Regions from separate parts of the Homo sapiens genome. Here region 1 is linked to region 2. The links are contacts of gene promoters, found by promoter capture Hi-C in blood cells and fetal thymus (Javierre and others, 2016). All regions are on one chromosome and are shown on one strand. Each heading gives the region's core, a stretch centred on a gene start or on the middle of the fragment in contact. The rest is flanking DNA. Distances are from core to core; before and after follow the strand shown.

Region 1 (5,543 bases), core at 1,442-3,941, 320 kb after region 2:
TGCTGTCTCTTCCATTTCAGGGCCTCTAGCACCTTGGAGACTGATGCCTTAGTCAGCCACTTCCTCTCCAAAACCTTAACAAAAGCTGACGGCAGGGAGCAGAAAGGGAGGGAGCACAGGAATGGAGCTGGCCTGGGGGAGAGAAGCGGAGGAGATAGCTAAGCTGTGGTTAAGTCATTTATTGATTTTATTTCTAAAACCCACATAGCGCCACTTTGCCGCTTCCAGAGCTTCAAAGAGCTAATTAACCACCCAATGAGCCCACCAGGGAAACCAAGCTTGTGGGAGAAGCAATGAGGTGAAGCCAAGGTCAAAGAGGGTAGCCAGGCCCCAGGCCCTGCCCCCATTCTGCCACTTAAGGACAAAGGCAAAAAAGATGTCCTCCTTTTGGTGAGCCGAAGTTTAGGGCTTGGCTGGGGAAACGCACTGAGCCTGCCTTGCTTCTGAGGGCTCCTCAAGCCTGGCAGACCCATAGCAAAGCACAGGCCTCCTGGACGGGGGACCAGACACCCCAGTAAACAGCAGTAGCCAGCCCTAGCTCACAGCTGGAAAGCAGCCCAGGCCAGTTGCTGGCCCCAGCAGCCAGATGCTGGGGGAGCCTACTGTCCCTCAGCCGCCCTGAAGGAAGGAGAGGCAGGTGGAACCAGGGCAGCTCTAAGGCACCTCTGCCCAGGAGAGGACCTCACTACCTGGTGGAGACTCCACATGGATTTTTCTGGAACCCTAACAGTAACTACCCACTCGCCGCCCAAGACATGGAAAAAAAGCAGAAGACCCTTTGAAAAGTGCTTGCAAAGCACAAGATGGGGCACTTTATCCTGTCCCCCCGACCCCCGCCAAAGCCTACAGCGCTGGCAGGCTGCAAGTCACCAGCAGAGAAGGAAAAAAGCCACTTGGCGGTTTTAATTTTAGCTGCTCTGTGCCTGACAGGCAGGATTAGTTGGCTTGACCTTTAGTGTTGATGCCTCCCCAGGCCCAGGGCCTTAGGTGGCAGCTTCCAGGCACAAATCACCACTGGAGCTCATCAAACGTGGACGTCTGAGCCCCAGGAAAAAGCCTTCAAAGGACAGAGACTAGAAAAATGAGCAGTGAACAAGGAGGGGCAAAATTGGTTCTCAGCGATGTTAACTAGTCACCAAAGGGGAGACTGTGGAGCCACCCACACACTGAGCTCCCACCACCAAAGCCACACACAGGAGGCAGGTGGTGGGCTTCCCTAATTAACCACCCACAGTCTCACCCCCCCGGACCTGGTGCTGAACGAAAGTTAAGGCACCTTTGGTGCTGCTGCTGCTGCTGGTGGTAGAGGAAGTTTATGTGAAAAGAAAAACCGGGCGGGGCAGGCATTAAAAAGAAAATAAAGAAGCAGACCCAGAAAACCACACTGCTCTTTTATTCAATGGAACATCCCCGCTTTAGCGCAGTGTTGAATCTAACACCGAAAAAAGCCCAGAGAAATTTCTGCAGATAAACCAGTGAAGAGAACGCGCAGTATACATTATTGTCAACAGAATCACTTCATGGAGAGGGAAGCGGGAGGAAAAAGGAAGGAGAATGAACAAGGGGCTCAAACCCCTACACACTGCAAAACATTCAGACATTTGGGATTAAAACAAAACATAAAAGGAAGCCTTCCAGGAAGGAGAGGACCAAATGGAATCTGAGGCAGCTCAGGTGATCAAGGAGCACAGGAAGAACTCCAGGCTGGCAGGCGAGCCCGAGGGAGCTCAGGCTGCCCACCCACTGCTGGCAGGATCGCCAGGACGGATGGGAATCCCGAAACCTGGAGATGAACCTACCCTCGGCAACTTTACAAGACTCCCTTGACAAGGGTGGCAGAGATTAAAAAACCCCACGCTTTAAACAAACATCTTTGGGGGTGGCTATGGCACCTTGAAAAACCCACAACCAGCTTGACATGAATGGCCAAAGCCCTTGCCCAAAACCATTTGCTCCCCTCTCCTTGGTAAGGGAAGGAGAACTGGAGAGAAGGGAAAGGAATCTAAATTGCAGCAGAAGACCGGGGAGAGCATCTCCTTGGACGGAGTCTGAAGAAAGGAAAAGATAAAGAAGTAACAAAGGAAAAAGAAAAAAATTAATAAAAATTTCACGATATGGAGCCAGCGTGTTCCGATTCCGTCCACAAAAATAACTCAGGCTGCTTTGCCGAACCATCCTGTCCACCAGGGGCGTTGCTGAGGCTGTCTGCCTGGAAGGGTCACCAATGGGCGCGGAAAGTCCTCACTCTCATGGCTCGGGCCATCGCCGCCGCGGGGAGGGATCCTGGCGGCCCGGTTTGGGGAGAGGCAAAGGGAGTTGGGTGAGGAGAGAAAGAAGACAAAGAAGACACTCGATGCTACGGGGCGCCAGGAGAGCCCAAGCTGGCGCCCCTACTACCACCTGCCCGTTCCCAAGCGAATCCTCAGTCGCTTGGCCCAGCCCAGTGCGTGCACACACACACATGCGTGCACACACAATCACATGCGTGCGTCCCAATGTCTGGCTCCATATGGTGAGGTTCGGCGTGTTTAAACGAGACCAATTCTCTCTATATATAATATATATTTTCTTAAAAAACAAGTCTAGTTCTGTGGTGGAGGCGGTGGGGGAGCTGGAGGCATCCCGAAGGGCGGCATGCCCGCCACCCCCATGCCCATCATGGTGACAAAGTTAGAAGGGTCCATGGGAGGCGGAGGAGGAGGGGGCGGGGCATACATCATGCCGGCGGAACCAGGCGGTGGAGGCGGCGGAGGGGGAGGGGCCCCAGGCGGCAGAGGCGGCTGGACCCCGGGGGGCAGGGGCACCATAGTGGGGTTGCCTTGCATCTGAGGGGCTCCTGGAGAAGCTGCGGCAGCCGCCTGCTGCTGTTGCCATGGCGGGATGGACCCTGTGCCAGCGCTCGTGGTGGTAGTCGTCGTATCTGGGGTGGTAAAGAAGCCCAAGGTCACACGCGCGGGGGCACACCGCGGCTGTCTGCGGCTGCTGCCTTGGGATGGGGGCGAGGGGCGCCTGCTCCTTGCTTGGCATGCGGTACGGTGGTGGGGGGCGGGTGGGCGGGGCTGGTGATGGGGAGTGGAGGGGTGGGCAGGACTACCCTGGGGTCAGCCTCGAGGTCTCTGGGCTTAACAGAGTAAGCCCTTTGTCACCAATGCCCCTGGAAGGGCTGAGGGGAAGGTACCAGACACAAGAACAGCTCTGATGTCCCTCCGCCCAGCCGCCGCCACCACCGAACGGCACATTCAACCTCAAGGCCACAGCTGCTGTCTCCCCACTGCCCAGTCCCACCTCTGCAGTCTCTCACCCCAATCGCAGCCCTTGCCAGAGCAAGCATGCACCATCCCACTCGACCCATATGCACCAGGCTCAGTCCAGCCAGCCGCTCACTCAGCCTGCGAGGGTCTGGACTTCTGGCCCCCTACCTACAATAGCAGGCTCCCCTCCAGGCCCCCACGAACCTCTCCCCAGACACAACCACACCAAACATCAGCTCTCCTCTTCAAGATGCCCCTCCACCCCCTGGACCAGGAGGCCCTTTCTGTTTACAACCCCAGCAGAGCCCAGGGGCTCATCCCAAGACACCTGCCTGCTTGTGTGAGGCTCTATGGTTCCTGTCAGCCCCACCCCCATCCCACCCACCCCCACAAGCCCAAAATATTCTACTCACTTTGCTGCCATGGCAAGGGGGTACTGGAAGCCATACTGCTGCTGGGCGGAGGGGGTGGCGGAGGCTGCTGCTGCTGTTGTTGCCATGGGGGAAGAGGACCAGAGGGAGGGGGTGGGGGCTGCCCACTGGGAGGCGGCGGCGGCGGCGGCATCATGCCCATAGGTGGTGGCGGCATCATACCTGTGGACAGGTGGAGGCAAAGATGAGGCCTCAGGGAAAGGCGGGGACTTGGGCCAGAACCCCCACTCACCCAAGCCTAGGTGAAGACCCACAGCCAGCAGACAGCCATTACCTTTTCCTTGATGCAGGCGATAGACCCCAGAGCCCACAGGCGTACTTCCCAGGTACTGATCTTGATGGAAGGAAAGAGCAGGGACTTAGCAGGACATTGGAACTGGCCAGGGAAGCCACCCCTGTGATAACCTCAGTTGCTATCCTTACGCGAGTTCTGAAAACCATGCCTGTAAAAGGCAGGTCTGTGCTTACCCAACACAGAATCACTCCCTGAACCAGAATGGAGTCTTGCTCCTTCCAGAGCCACAACCCTGGCAAGCCAGGCAGACCCAGCACATTGCCCAGCCACTTGAGAGCTGCTTCTAGCCAACAGCGACCTGACGTAACCCCTTGCTTATCCCAAAGCCCCCAAGGTTTCTGGTCTGACACTTACTTACCCATTGGAGGAGGGCCATGGTGCCCAGGAGGGTGGGGGCCCTGGTTCATCGGTGGTGGTGGTGGCTGCATCCAAGGGGGTGGGGGTCCATTGGGGTTGTGCTGCATGGGATGTCCACCATGCCCACCTGTCAGGCTGGGTAATGGGTGTGGGAAGCTGTGGGGGCCACCTCCGGGCCCACCAGGACCACCTCCATGCATGCCGTGGTAGGGCCGACTCTCTGAAGGGCCAGAATTCATCCAGGGTGGGCGGCTCTGGGTGGTAGACATGAGAGACTACGTGAGAGCATTTCCTGCCAACGTCCCTGCCTGCGCCTCCTAGTGGCAACATTGTTCTTCGGGTTATGACACAGGACCAGAACACAAGAACAAGGTCTTCCCGAAGTGAGAAGTCCCCAAACTGGCCTGAGATCCCGGAAGAACAATGTTGCCATCCACATCCATTGTCTGCTCTACCCAAACCACGTGGCCATAGCTCCCAGTCTCTGCAGTAGAGAATGGGGAAGCCAGACCAAGAGAGCCAGCCCCCAGGCTCACCGGTGGAGGTGGGTTGTTGGCGGGAGCAGCAGGACGAGGTGCGCTGGCCAGGGGTGTGGTGGCAGGCCCAGAGGTGGAGCCCACAGATGCTGGGACAGGTGCTTCACCCAGTTCAGCCATGAGGGACAAATATTCTTTATCCATCCGTGCTTTATCCTGAGCTGACTGAGGATCACCAGGCCTGAAGTGGGGTGGGGGACACAAACAGAGAAAGGGGAAAAACTTGTTAAGAAGGAAGCTTTTATCCTGAGGAACCAACATATGGAAAGTTCTGAAGAATTCAATCACCAGATCATCACACATCTTTCTAACCCCTTACTGGGCATGGCTCTCAACAGTCTCATCAGATCTTCAGTTTCGTGCCCAGTTCTGCATCTGGGATCACCAGAGTAGAGGGGCCCCTGGGCGAAGAGCACAGGAGACCCTGAGCACCGATGAAGCACAGGTTCTCTCAAGTCAATTTCATCAAACTTCATTCCCAGTTTGAGGAAAGGAAAATCTATGCAAGACTGGCACAACTGCCAGAACGAACTTCCTAAACAAAACCTTACATATTCGCCAGCCAGTCAGAAAGTGTTGATATCGAGTGCTGACTTGCAACTGGTCAGAAATCTGTAGAGATTGCTTAGTCTTCTTGAACCAATTCTGAACAGCAAAAGCAGTGAATTTCCTA
Region 2 (5,666 bases), core at 2,324-4,823:
TTTATATATTATTGGCTAATTCCACACTTGTTTTGTCAATTGCCTCTTCATGTCCTTTGCCTGTTTGTCTGCCATGTTTGGGGTATCCATTGACTTCTGCTATGGAAGCAGAAGACGCCAGGGGCCCACTTTCCCAGCCTCCCTTGCAGGCTGCAGGCTTATGATTGAGGATCTGTCATTCAGAGGCTCTTGCCTCAGGAATGGGATTAAAAGCTAATGGCCAGAGGTAGCAGAAGCCGTGCAGACTTGATTCCAGAGAGAGTGAAAGCAATGGCAGCTGATCCGTGGCAGTGCGCAGGACCCAGTAAAAAGGTAGCCATGGTGTCTTTACTTGACCAGCTGGAGCACAGTTTCTGTTCCTGTCTGGGAGGCCTGCAAGCCTGGTTCTCCAGCCCACCCAGAAAGTCTGTGGTGGTACTTGATACTCATCCCTTTTCTGCTTAAATCAGCTAAGGTCAGTTTCTGTTGCTTGCGAGAAAAAACTATCATATTAACCCTCCATCTGTATTATCTGTTACAAATCTTTTTTCCAGTTGTCAGTAGTCTTTCAACCATACATATATATATATGTGTGTGTGTGTGTGTGTGTGTGTGTGTGTATAGTTGTATAGTTATATATATTATATATATAATATATAATAGCTTTCTCAGAGAGAAGTTTGAGATTCTCATGCAGCCGCATAGATCAACCATTTAGTTTCTGGTTTTCAGGTCAGGTTTATTTATTTATTTTTATTTATTTATTTATTTTGAGACAGAGTCTTGCTTTTTCGCCTAGGCTGGAGTGCAGTGGTACAATCACAGCTCACTGCCTCCTGGGTTGAAGTGATTCTCCTGCCTCAGCCTCCTGAGTAGGTGGGATTACAGACGACCACCACTACATCTGGCTAATTTTTGTATTTTTAATAGAGATGGGGTTTCACCACGTTGGTTGGCCAGGCTGGTCTCGACTTATGACCTCAAGTGATCCGCCCACCTTGGCCTTCCAAAGTACCCAGCCTCAGGTCATGTTTAAAAAGGCTTTCCTTAATCCAAGATTATAAATATATTTAATTAAGTTAAAAAACTTAAGTTGTTATTGGATTCAAATATTAATATTTAAATATTTTGTTTAAACGTATACAAAATTAAAAAATTCAAACACTACTACTAGGCTTAAAATTATATAAATAAAAAAGAGTTCTCTGCTCCATTTCTCTGATTCCCAAAACTCCCTCATTAGGGGCACCCACTTTCAGTTTTTGAGTAGATGTTTCATCTTTTTCTTTCTTTCTTCTTTTTTTTTTCGAGATGGAGTTTTGCTTTTGTTGCCCAGGATGGAGTGCAATGGTGCGATCTTGGCTCACTGCAACCTCCGCCTGCCGAGTTCAGGTGATTCTCCTGCCTCAGCCTCCTGAGTAGCTGGGACTACAGGCATACACCACCACGCCCGGCTAATTTTTGTATTTTTAGTAGAGATGGAATTTCACCATGTTGGTCAGACTGGTCTTGAATTCCCAACCTCAGGTGATCCACCTGCCCCGGCCTCCCAAAGTGCTGGGATAACAGGCGTGAGCCACTGCGCCCGGCCTCATCTTTTTCTTAAACCTTCATTTCTAAGTGAAATGGCTTCTACTCTTAATTCCTGATTTTCTTCACTTTCTGATCTCGGATTTGAGATCTCACTTGCTACCATGAAAAATGAGACTTTATTTTCTTACCATCCACACTTCTATTATCTGTCACTGCTCAGCCTCTTTTAAATCTATGGGCCCCCTCTGTCTTTTCTTTTCATTTCTTTTCTTTTCTTTTCAGATGGAGTCTTGCTCACTGCAACCTCTGCCTCCCGGGTTCAAGCGATTCTCCTGCCTCAGCCTCCGGAGCAGCTGGGATTACAGGTGCACACCACCACATCTGGCTAATTTTTGTATTTTTAGTACAGAAGGGGTTTCACCATGTTGGCCAGGCAGGTCTGGAACTCCTGACCTCAAGTGATCTGCCCACCTCAGCCTCCCAAAATGCTGGGATTACAGGCGCGAGCCACTGCACCCCGCCCGTTTTTTTCTTTTCTTTATAAAAGTTGAAATACACTAGCTGTATCTAGTTTCGGGATGTGCATGATAATTGGATACATTCCTATAATCAAATCAGGGTAATTGGGATGTCCATCATCTTAAATATTTATCTTTTCCTTGTGCCAGGAACATTAGGATTATTCTTTTCTAGCAATTTTGAAGTGTACAATCGATTAATGTCACCCTACTGATCTATTGAACACCAGATGTTATTTCGTCTATGTAAGTGTGTATTTGTACCCACTCATCAACCTTTCTTCATCCCCTCCTTTCCCCCTCCCCTTCCTGGCCTCTAGTAAGCAGGTTGCTGTTGCAAATTACGTATTGAAGAAACTGGCGCTTTGTCCTATGGTTGCCTGCAGTCTGGATTTTGCTGGTCACGTCCCCTTAGCTTTGTTGAGCAGGCTCCCCAGTCCCTGTATTTCTTGTAATTTGATAGTTGGCAAACTTTTTCCATAAAGAGCCAGCGAGTAAATATTTTGGGCTTTGTGGGCTATAACAGTCTCTGTGGCAATTCCTCAACTCTGCTGTCACAGCGAGGCCGCAGCCAGAGACAACATGTAAACAGCGGAGCAGGGCTCCGTTCCCACAGCGCGGGATCTGGGTCCCAGTTTGCACAGCCCTGAGTCGAGGGTGGATCCAATCCAGGTCTGATACAGCATTTCAATGGTGATGCCGCAGCCTTCCACACTGAGGCACTTAACACCCCATTGTTCCCAATTGCATTTTAACTGAAAAAATACAAAAAGAGATCAAAACTGAAAGTGCAGTTTCCTCATGGTCCCACCACATTTTGGAGAAGTGTATAAATGGAGAAGTGAAAGCTCCATCTTCTGCCCCTTCCCCATGAGAGAGCCTCTATTCACAGCCAGGTCAGTTTCTTCCAGACTGTTAACATCCGTGTGAGTGCACATGTCTACACTGCGTGGAGCCTGCCTGCTTCCTGCCCCGCAGGCGTGTCTGCTGTGGGAAGGCTGGAGTTCTGACCTTCCCCCTCCCCCTCTGGGTGACAGGTGGCTCAGTTCTCTTCCCTGCCACGTTCAAGACCAGGTTGGGGGAGGGGGTGAATGTCACTATTCCCCTGACTGCCACTGTGGAGAGGGGAGACCCTCGCCCCTTTTCTGAATTTTTCCTTACCCCTTTCCTTGGAATAAAGCAAACACCAGACCCAAATGGATTTTAAGTGACACTTTCCCAAGAGTCTGGAGAGGGGACAGAGACTGGACGTGGTGTGTCCTGCCTGAGCCGAGTCATCTGGTTACGAGGGCAGGGGCAGGCTGGGGTGGGGCTCATGCGCCCCGGAAGCACCCTGGCTCCTCGCTCTCCCATGCCTCTCCCTTTATGTCCTCTGCTGTCCAGCGCCTGGGCCCCGGCCCTCCCTGGGACACCATCCTGCCCTGCCCGAGTCGTGGCTCTCCAGTCTCTTTCGGGGACTCGCCCCTGGCACCCACTAGATGGCGCTCCCGGCCACTCAGCTCCCCCTGCCTCGCTTGGGGTGGTGCTGGACGTCGGGAGCGCTGGCCTCTGCTCTGCTGATTTGCAGGTGGGAGTGCAGGGTGAGCCCGGCGCAGGGGATAGGAGGTGGGGGAGTCGAGAGCTGGAGTCAGGCGCCGCTCACGCTGGGATGACGGAGTGTTAACCTCAGACTCTGGGTCCCTTTGGGCCGAAGCTTTAAGAAAACAGGGGCAGCGAGCCCGGCGTCCCAAGGAGCCTTGCCAAACTGGGCATGGAGAACGGGCCTCCTGGATGGCCACCCGCCCAGCTGCCAAAGAGGCCGGAGAGCTGGAGCCGGGACTTGGAGGATCTTCTTCAGAGAGGCAGGAGGGCGGTCCGAACGTGCCCCCACCCCTGACCTCAAGCCCATGTGGAGAGGGCCAACAGAGCCTCTTGGAGAGCTGGATTTGCGTCCTCTGCAGCTTGGGGGACACGTCGTTGATGGTGACTGACACGCCCCAGAGATAGTGACATGATGATTAAGAGTGACAGCCTGAGGGAGCTGAGCGCAGCATGGCTGGTCTGGCAGCTGCTGTCGGTGTCGCGACCCCACCCCACTTCCCCGGCTCCCTGCCTCCTTCGCTGGAGAAGCATCCTCAGCCAATGGAGCCACAATACCTGGTACGTTCAGGCGACGCCCACAGCCCACGGCTAACTGTACAAAAGACTGTTCCCTCGCCTGCCTCTAGATGGCGATACCTCTGCCCCAGGGCCCCCTGCATATCTGCCAGAGCTGTATTTACCCTGGGACCACGCCTTTACCGAGTCCTTTCTCCTTCCCCGCCCCTCTGCCCTCACATCCTGGGCGGCTTGTCCCAGGATGAGCCCTCCCCTAGTAAATCCCTGTCTTGGGCTCTGTTTTCAGACAGCTGAAGGCAGGGAACAGCAGGAGGGGCCCCAGGAAGCTGGCCCCAAGGACGGGATGCTGCAGGAGGATGCCCCGCTGGCCCCTGGTGACTGGAGCCCGTTGCGGAGGCCCCTGGCACGAGGTGGCAGAGCAGCTGCTCAGGCCTCCGCCTGTGGTCACCTGGGACAGGACTCAGGTGGACGGGGATGCCCGGCTCGTTTAATATCACTGATGTTGAGAGACAGATGGGAAAATAGCCGTGAGAAGGACGTGGAGTGGGGAGGCTGTCACTGAATACTACTGACACTTAGAAGAGGGAAAATGACAAGTTCAGGGCCACGCATCACCAATTTAAAGCAAAGTCAGGATTCCTTGGCAGAATTTAACGAAATGCTTCTCTTCTATAGCCAGGGGTCAGAGGGCAGAAGACAAGGTGCAGGACTCCAGAGAAGGCCAAATTTCCAGCCCAGGGAAGTCCCTTCTCCAAAGTCAGGGCCCCAAAGGGAAGGGTGGGGTCCCTGATATCTGAGATGGACTATCTGAGGAGACACTCTTGAGACATTGAACCCCCAGATTCTCCTGTACCTCCTGGCCTGCAGAAGTGACCCATTGCCTCTGTTGGAAGACAGAGGTCCTCTTTTGCTTAAAGACCATGCAGAAACTAAGGGAAGGGACCTTACAAGATAAGGAGTTCCTCTCTCCAGCATCTGTCCCCACCTCCCCTCCTGACCACCAGGCTCAAAGCTGGATCATATCTCAGCATGACCTGACCAAGGATGTGCTTTGCATGCCAGGGACCAAGAGGGATTAACAAGCAGAGGAGTGGTGGGAGCAAGCCAGCAGGGACCAGCCGGGTCTAGAGAATGTTCCTAGATGTGGACTCTGAAGGTTCTAGATCAAGGGAGGCTGCATAGTAGCTGGAGACTGGAGAGTTAATTAGTACAGAAAGACTCCCTAACCCCTAAAAAGGCCCTGGGAAGATTCTAATATGTTGCTTGGGAGGGTTCTTTTTTTTTGAGACAGAATTTCTCTCTGTCGCCCAGGCTGGAGTACAGTGGTGCGATCTTGGCTCTGCAACCTCCACTTCCCAGGTTCAAGCGATCCTCCTGTCTCAGCCTCCCGAGTACCTGGGATTACAGGCATGCACCACCATGCCCAGATAATGTATTGTTTTTTTTTTTTTTAGTGGAGATGGGATTTTGCCATGTTGGCCAGGCTGGTCTCGAACTCTTGACCTCAAGTGATCTGTCCACCTTGGCCTCCCAAAGTGC

The links. The method cuts DNA at HindIII sites, captures the fragments that hold promoters and counts their contacts. A CHiCAGO score of 5 or more calls a contact.
Region 1: a contact is called between a fragment that was not itself captured here and the fragment with the promoter of LINC02724 in region 2, in 1 of 17 cell types (M1 macrophages). The highest score is 5.6, in M1 macrophages.

What each region holds. Positions count from the first base shown.
Region 1 is chr11:64,763,236-64,768,778 of GRCh38, forward strand. SF1 (splicing factor 1) reads right to left here. Exons shown (of 13, transcript NM_004630.4): 9 at 4,871-5,051; 10 at 4,336-4,609; 11 at 3,957-4,016; 12 at 3,665-3,844; 13 at 1,371-2,920. The coding sequence ends at 2,583. Among named protein-coding and RNA genes, the nearest start is that of PYGM, 6.0 kb to the left of the region's middle. RefSeq lists enhancers at 1-753, 1-32, 1,627-2,501, 2,502-3,374, 3,375-4,248 and 2 more. The HindIII fragment of the contact is 4,830 bases long and covers 277-5,106 here.
Region 2 is chr11:64,445,484-64,451,149 of GRCh38, forward strand. It overlaps LINC02724 (long intergenic non-protein coding RNA 2724), which reads left to right and starts at 3,574. Exons shown (of 2, transcript NR_073177.1): 1 at 3,574-4,169; 2 at 4,414-5,666. RefSeq lists an enhancer at 3,913-4,162, a cis regulatory region at 4,052-4,321 and a silencer at 4,099-4,294. The HindIII fragment of the contact is 9,068 bases long and covers 1-3,721 here.